Linked DNA regions of Homo sapiens: region 2 is linked to region 1. Evidence: promoter capture Hi-C in 16 types of primary human blood cells and fetal thymus (Javierre and others, 2016). All regions are on one chromosome and are shown on one strand. Each heading gives the region's core, a stretch centred on a gene start or on the middle of the fragment in contact. The rest is flanking DNA. Distances are from core to core; before and after follow the strand shown.

Region 1 (4,246 bases), core at 364-2,863:
AGCAAAATTATGTAAGTTTTGAATACCATGTTGTAGGATAATAATATAGATGTATTTTTGCTTAAAGCCAAACTTTTTTATGTTGTGTTGTCATTGTTGTGGGGTTTATTTGTTTACTAAACTCTGCAAGAGGTAAAATCAGATTACACTGTAATATTTGCTATATGAGATATTTTCTTCTACTAATTGCAAGCTAAAAATAAGTTAACCAATGGCTCCCTGTTAGGAAATTAAAAATACAATTTCATATGTTTCTTACGAGGACTAAAGAACCATAAACCTCTTCTTTGCGTATAAGGATGGCAAAGAGCTCAATTTTTTTCTGAGCAATTTTGTTCCCTTTTCTGAATGGTAAATTTAGTATTATTGAATAATAGACTACAACGATTTAATCTTGAATTATTTTATCAAAGGACACTTAGGTTATTTTATTTATTTCCAAGAGTATTTCTTGTATTTAGTTTATGTTTGCTTATACGTGATAGAACATATATGAATCTATTCTGGATTACCAATATTGAATAACAAAAAGGATGTTTGGCAGATTATAGACAAATATTTTAGAAAGCATATTCTGCTTAAAATTTTATTTTTCATACAGTCACGAGTAATCAACTCATAACTAACCTATAACTTAATGTCGATGCCCCAAAGCTAAAGAGAAGGTCCATAGGAAAATAAGAAAATAGATGTAAAAAGAAGTACTTCTAGAGACATGAAATTTCAGTACAACAAATAGATAAATCTAAAACTTCCTTTAGAATTATTTTCCATCTATAATTTGACTTATCAGCACCATTTGTTGATATCACACAATAAAAAAAGACTTCAAAATTCAGAATATAAAATTCTAAACCCTGCCCGATACTAATCAGGAGTAAAAACAAAATAAAATATTTTAAGGCTTTCAAATCTTGAATTTACCTCTCATGTTCCTTTTCTGAGGATGGTTCTTAATGATATCATTCGTGATAATGAATCAGAAAACAGAAACAGAAACTAAGAAAGACAAATTGTGCAATATAAGAAGCGAGGAAATTCACCCTGGAAGCTAAAGAAAACAGACTCTAGAATGACAGCGTTTGGTAAACACAGAAAATAATTGGCAGTCTTAGAATAGGAATTTAGTGGGCTACAAGACAAACATCTTTGGAGGAATTAAATGGACATCAGCAAGATGATTGAATAGGGAGCCCTAGCCTCTCTTTCCTCTAAGGAGAAAGCAATTCAACAACAATACAGACCATTTCCCTTTGTGAGAAATCCAGAAACCAACTAAAAGGTTCCAGCATCCCAGGCAAACACAAACCCAGCTGCACCAATGCCAGTAGGAAGATTCATGGCAAACACTTACCATAGGCCCTCTTCCTCAGTGCAATGCAATTGAGAGAAAACTCCCAGATCTCAGTTTCTCCCTTGGAATGGAAAGAGAAGACTGAAACATATGTCCAATGTTGAGACTTTTTCAGGAGCTGCCCAAGGGACTGGTTTATGTCCTGACTAGAAGAACACTGACAGGAAGGGGTGCCAAGTTGAGAGCTGCTGAGAACAAAGGCAAAAATTTGGACCCTTCACTGGCCATGGTCGCTTCCTCTGGCTCAGTAAATAAAGAGTAGAAGAAAACCTCTAACTCCTTGCTTCCTCCTGGAGAGGAAAAGAAATAAAACCAGCAACCAAATTTCTGGCTTTTGGCAGCCTATCTGAGAGGACTAGTTTTTATCTTGCTATCTCAGAGCCATATATGACAAGCCCATAGCTAACATCTTGCTCAACAGTTAAAAACTGAAAAATTTTCCTCTCAAATCAGGAACAAGGCAAGAATGCCCAATCTTGTCACTTCTATTTAACATAGTTCTTGAAGTCCTAGCTAGAGCAAATAAGCAAGACAAAGAAATAAAAGGCATTCAAGTCAGAAAGGAAGATGTAAAATGATCTCTATTAGTAGATTACATGGGTACACAAAAAATTCTCAAGATTCCACAAAAAAAAACCTGTTAGAACTAATAAATTCAGCAACATTGCAGGATCCAAAATTATCACAAAAATTACTTATGTGGCTATACACTAACAATGAAATATCCAAAAAGAAAATTAAGAAAACAATCCTTACAATACTTACAATACTTACAATAGCATCAATAAATATAAAATACTTAGGAATAAACTTAACCAAAGAAGTGAAAGTCTTCTACACTGAAAAACTATAAAACATTACTGAAAGAAATTAAAGAAGACACAAATAAATGGAAAGACATCCCATGTTCATAGATTAAAAGACAAGATTGTAAAAATGCCCATATTGCCCAAAGAGATCTATAGGTTCAATGGAATCCCTATCAAAATCTCAGTGGCATTTGTTGCACAAATAAAAAAGCATCCTTAACCTCATATGGAACCATAAGAGAGCCGAACTAACCAAAGTAAAATTGAGAAAAAATAACAAAAAAAAAAAGCCTCACACTTTGTGACTTCAAAACGTATTACGAAGTTATAGTGATTAAAAATTTGTATATGGGACTGGCATTACAGACATATAGACCAGTGTAACAGATTAGAATGGCCACAAATAAATCTACATATATATGATTAACAAGCATGACATCCTTCAACAAGGATGTCAAGATGTCATCATTGTTGACATCCTTCAACAAGGATGTCAAGATGGCACTATGGGAAAAGGATAGTCCCTTCAGCAAATGGTGTTGGGAAAGGTGGCCATTCACATGCAAAAGATAGAAATTGGACCTTTATCTCACACCAAACACAGAAATCAATTCAAAATAGTCTGTGATTTGTCTTTTTCTGTTTTGTTTCCTTTTAAATTTTTGTGGGTACGTAGCATGTGTATATATTTATGGGGCACATGAGATATTTTGATACAGGCATACAATGCATAGTAATCACATCAGAATAAGTGGCATATTCATTACCTCAAATATTTATACTTTATTCGTGTTACAAACAACCCAATTATGCTCTTTTAGTTATTTTTAAATGTACAATAGATTATTGCTAACTGTAGTCATCCTGTTGTTTTATCAAATACTAGATCATATTTATTCTATTTTTTGTACACGTTAATCATCCTTTATGCTTCACCCCTACCCAAAACCCTTCCCAGCCTCTCATAATCATCCTTCTACTTTCTATCTACATAAATTCAATTGTTTTCATTTTTAGCCTCCACAAATAAGTGAGAACAGGCAAAGTTTGTCTTTCTGTGTCTGGCTTATTTCACTTAACATAATGACATCCAGTTCCATCCATGTTGTTAAAAATGACAGAAATAACAGTCTTTTTTTTTTTTGCGTCTGAATAGTACTTCATTGTGTATATGTACCACATTTTCTTTATCCACTTATCTGTTGATAGACAGTTACATTGCTTCCAAATCTTGGGTATTGGAATACTGCTGCAATAAATGGGAGTGCAGATACATCTTATATCTTTGATATACTAATTTCCTTTCTTTTGAGTATATACCTAGTAGTGGGACTGCTGGATTCTATGGTAGTTCTATTTTTAGTTTTTTGAGAAACCTCCAAACTGTACTCCATAGTAGTCATACTAATATACATTTCCACCAACAGTGTACAAAGGTTCCTTTTTCTCCATATCCTTGCCAGCATTTGTTATTGACTATATTTTGGATACAAGCTATTTTAATTGGGGTGAGGCAATATCTCACTGTAGTTTTTATTTGCATTTCTCTGATGATCATTGATGCGGAGCACCTCTTCATACATCTATTTGCCATTTATATGTCTTTATTTGAGAAATGTCTTTTCAGATATTTTGACCATTGTTTAATTGTATTATTAGATATTTTCTTAGAGTTATTTCAGTTCCTTATATATTCTGGTTATTAATCCATTGTCTTATCAATAGTTGCAAATATTTTCTCCCATTCTGAAAATTGTCTCTTCACTTTGTTGATGGTTTCCTTTGCTGTGCAGAAGCTTTTTAACTTGATGTGATCCCATTTGTCCGCATTTGCTTTGGTTGCCTGTGCTTGTGGAGTATTACTCAAGGAATCTTTGCCCAGTACAATGTCCTGAAGAGTTTCCCCAAGGTTTTTTTTTTTTAGTAGTTACATAGTTTGAGATTTTATATTTAAGTCTTTAAGTCATTTTGATTTAATTTTTGTATACAGTGAGAGATAGAGGTGTAGTTTCATTCTTGTGCATATAGGTATTTTGTTTTCCCAGCACCATTTATTGAAGAGACTGTCTTTTCCCCAATGTAT
Region 2 (4,312 bases), core at 107-2,606, 240 kb before region 1:
AGCTTTCAGTTTAGCTGTAGATTAAAGGACAAAGTCAAGACTTCAACAAATATTTATTTGTTTATTATTTATTTACATTAAAATGGAAAGTTCTTTCCTGTCAAGTTAAGAGCACAGGTTGTGAACTCAGGATGCCTGGATTTGAATTTCATGTTCAGTTTTTACCAGAAATATGACATTGAGCAAGTTCTAACTCTAACCTTCAGTATTTCATTCTGTAAAGTGGAGCTAATAACATCTCAAAAATTGTTGAGAGAATGTGGTAATATACTTTGCATTGTGCCCAGAATTTGGAAAAATGTCAATGAATGTTAGCTGCTGTTGTTATTATTGTTATGATGGTAGCTAACTTTCTTGCAGTAGAGGAATAACAACATTTAACATATAGTAGTAGTTATTATCTATGAGACATTTGTGAGTACGAATATATGAGTATAAAAACCTGTACCCTTAAATTATGCACTGAAACTTTGTATTCTTTTGACTTCATGTAACTGAGAACAAAACTTGAGCTCACCTGAATCCTCTAGACTTTATGAAGTACTGTTAGAAGACACTTGTGACAACAAACAGCACAGAGAACCACATTCCCTGCCTTTAACCTCTGAGTCACAGTTATACAGCATAAATCATACAAACCGTCTCGGACATGTACTATAGCTCAAGTCTCTCCTCCTCAATTATTTTCTTTTAAACTCAATCTGTGAGGAATATTTGGGTAAATAACCTTTCTCCTTGTTTCTGTTACTTTCCACATGTCAAAAATAGAATATGGCCAAACTATTCTTTTCCACATTACTCATTTTAACCAGGAGTGCTCAGAAAAGTTTGGAAATGACTTTCAGAGAAACATTTTTAATTGTTTTTAATTTATCTAAAAACAGGCTAAAAAGTTTAATTAACAGGCTCCAAGTAACAGTTATACCATTTTTCCTCTGCTATCAGCTTTCACTTTTATTTACGATGAGTGTCCCCTTGTGTCTCCTCTACGCCAAGGTCCACTATCACTAATATTTCTGTGATATGTGAATAAACCTAAATGTAAAGTTAGCACTTGCAATCAATGCAAATTAATGATTTTTTTAAAAATTTCAATCAGGAAAAGCAGCTTTGTAGTTGAAAATCCCATGCTGGCCCTAGAGTGGGAGTTTTTCCAGCCTCTGCTTAAATCCAAAAAAATACTGCAATCTTCTGGCACAGGCTCACTGTAATGCTTTAAAAACAATTTAGCAACTGTCATTGCTGTAATTACAGTAACTAATTACCATCCTTAGCAAACAAATAGCTTAACATAATACGCAAGCCGAATCAATTTTGAAGAAATGCAAATTCCAAAAGCGAAAAAGGGCATTTTGGCAAACCTGAAAGAGAAGCAGGAAAATAATACACTTTGTTTTATCTGCACATAATTCCCAGGGAATATCATATCATAAATATTTGCATTCAGTTCTTATCAGGACATTTGCATTTGCTTCTTATCAGCGTGCAGACTGGACTCTGCCAGATAGAGAGGGGAGCGCCACACCATGCACATATTTCTAATGAATCACGTCTCAGGCCCAGAGAATATTTTGGCTGGAACTTTATCACCCAGATGAAGAGGTCATTTACTCTTCGAGTTGGTTCATCTTGGAATTGTCTTGAGATTTTGATGTGATTCACCCGACGCCACATTTATTTATTTCTTTATTTTAGACAAACACTGGAAGCAGTTTTTTTACCAGAATATTTCTTCCAGAGGCAGCTATTCAAAGGACACATTTCCCCTCGCCTGCCACCCCCTCCCCACCCACTCCTCAACTTCTGCAAAAAATAAAATCATGAGTAAATAACAACTGATTCTAATTATTTCTAATTCTGTACCAGGGTTGGCCATCTTTATTTTGTAGGAATCAATAGAGAGAATAAAAGCAACACGTAGAATAAATCAAGCCCTACTCGACCATCATTATCTGGAAATTTAGGGCCAAATCCTGTTGTAGTTCTCCAGGAGCACATTTGATCCTTAGTAAGGGTCTTCCTTAGTAAGAGGAGGCAGTGTTGCTGGCCCGGAAGCACCTTACTAATGAGACCATCAGATTCCTCTAACAGTTTATCCAGATAAATCAATTTCTCATCTTATGATGAGTAACAGTGCATCTTACCCATGAGCACACATAAGGTCGATAAGGGAGCTGATAGCAGCTTCTCATATGTGAATGAGAATTCCGTCTTTTTTAACTCTTGAATTATCATCTGACATGACACCCAGCATGCATTGGCTTGCTGCGCCTGAACATAAAGCACTCAAGCAGTCTATTTTGTTTTGGCGAGAGAAGCAGAAATATTATTCATCTTGATTGGATCCTTTCTGTTGGGTCTTGCTGTTTAATTAAACCAGATCTGTGTTTTAGCTCTTTGGTAACATGGGGTTCAAATAGACAGGGATATTATATCCTTATGTAAAACAAGGGCCGGTTGGTGTCCAAGAATCATGGCTATGCAAGTAAAGATTTCTACAGGCGTGCTATTATTACACAATTTCCCCTGTAATTTTATCATCTACTTGATATTATTGCACAAATTCTGAGGTCAAACTTCAAAGTAAAACTCTGGATGGGATCAATCTGAGTACCAGGAATTCAATTTCCAATTATAAATTAAAATATAGGTATAATGGGAAAATTTCTCATTTATAATAGTAGCAAAAATGCATTTAATTGTGCTTCATAGTGATTTTATTCATGAATATGGTCACTTAAACTTAATTTCACCTTTTGCCCAAGTAGAATTTCACTTTGATTTATTTGTTTAACATAAAAAGAGAACTTCTGGCTTATTATGATTCAAATGATTGACACATCTCTATTGGAATCCAGAAAATGCTATTTAAAATCTTATAAGAACATAAACATCTCATGAAACTTTATTCCAATAACAGTAAAAGAAGTTTCTGTCAAATTATTTGTTTTAATTATACTTTTTCTTAAAAAAATCGTAGCTTTTTATTTTTCCCTGAATAGTGGTAACATAGGTATTTGAATATTTTTTATTTTGACATAAATTATTTCATTTAAAAATGTCTAGACACAGTTGCTCTGACTTTAAGAATTTAAAATATTATTTAAGTCTTAAATGAGCATTTTATAACATTCTCTTGTGAAATTATTTCAAGAATTTTCCAAAATTTAAATAAGAAATGAAAATTTATGTCGAGATGAAAGGTTAAAATTATGTGGCATCTTAAAAGAAATTCACATGAAGTTGTCAGGACATTTATGTATTTTGTCTAAATTCAACTTTTGTGTATATATTTACATTATGTGTTATGCTGTAACTCTAGGATGCATCATGAATTATATTTAAAAAAATAAAATATCCTACAAAAAAGTAAGAGCCTAGAGAAAGAATAACACTAAAATATATTTGTGAGACTCAATAATTCATCTGGAAAAGACTTCATATCTATCTTTTATGTTTTATCATTGCTTTTAGCTGTTTCTTTGAGGTGGGAAGAGCATATAGTTAAGAGCTCATTATCAGGGTGAAGGATGCAGGAAGTCCAAAATATTTATGTTTGTTCATGGCACATGGACAAAAGACAGTTCTCAGGAAAAGGGCTTTCTGATTAAGTGATTGAAAACACTCTGGGGTATTTTAATAACTTCTTCTATCCAAGAGATAACATCATCTTTGTCCTTATCACTGTTCTGAAACTTATTTTAAACATTCTCCTGTTCTCTTCCAATTAGATGCTCTGCTCTCTTGGCTTCCTGTGTCCTCACTGCAACTCATCTCATTTGTTTGCTTTCTCATTTTTGTCAGCAGGTTGGGTGTAAAAGAGGCATTTAACAGATAATTGAAGGGACTTGCTTTCCAGAGTCAAATTCATCTACATGGCATTCAGCCATAGGCTTTCAGTGATAAAACATGGACATGTAAAACATCAACTTGTGATTTGTAAAAGCTTAAAATATTGATGATTGAACAGGGTTACAGGAGATGATAGAGGGGAATCTGTTCAATTTTCAATGAAAATTGATAATGCCCAAATAGGTAATATAAAATCAGATCAAACACTCAGGCAAAATTTATTTAAGGAAAACATATATATGGAGAAGTAGTTTATGTCTACATTTGCTCACGCCTTTGTCTAAAACTCTTTTCTCCAGACTTTGGTATTGCTGGTGGTTTCTCATCATTCTGACTCAACCGAAAGGTTGCCTCTTTAGAGAAGCCTTGCCTGGCCATTCTAGCTAAAGTAGTTGCCTCCCACAGACACAGTCATTTTCTGGTTCCTGTTTTATGTATTTTTATTTACTTCATGGTGTTT

The links. Contacts are between HindIII fragments. The CHiCAGO score rates a contact against its expected background, and 5 or more counts as called.
Region 2: a fragment that was not itself captured here is called in contact with the fragment with the promoter of LINC03084 in region 1 in 14 of 17 cell types (neutrophils, endothelial precursors, naive B cells and 11 more); the score reaches 14.6 in neutrophils.

What each region holds. Positions count from the first base shown.
Region 1 is chr8:105,187,182-105,191,427 of GRCh38, forward strand. It overlaps LINC03084 (long intergenic non-protein coding RNA 3084), which reads right to left and starts at 1,614. Exons shown (of 3, transcript NR_187537.1): 1 at 1,355-1,614. The HindIII fragment of the contact is 4,322 bases long and covers 1-3,957 here.
Region 2 is chr8:104,948,960-104,953,271 of GRCh38, forward strand. No RefSeq gene overlaps it. Among named protein-coding and RNA genes, the nearest start is that of LINC03084, 240 kb to the right of the region's middle. The HindIII fragment of the contact is 5,175 bases long and covers 1-3,944 here.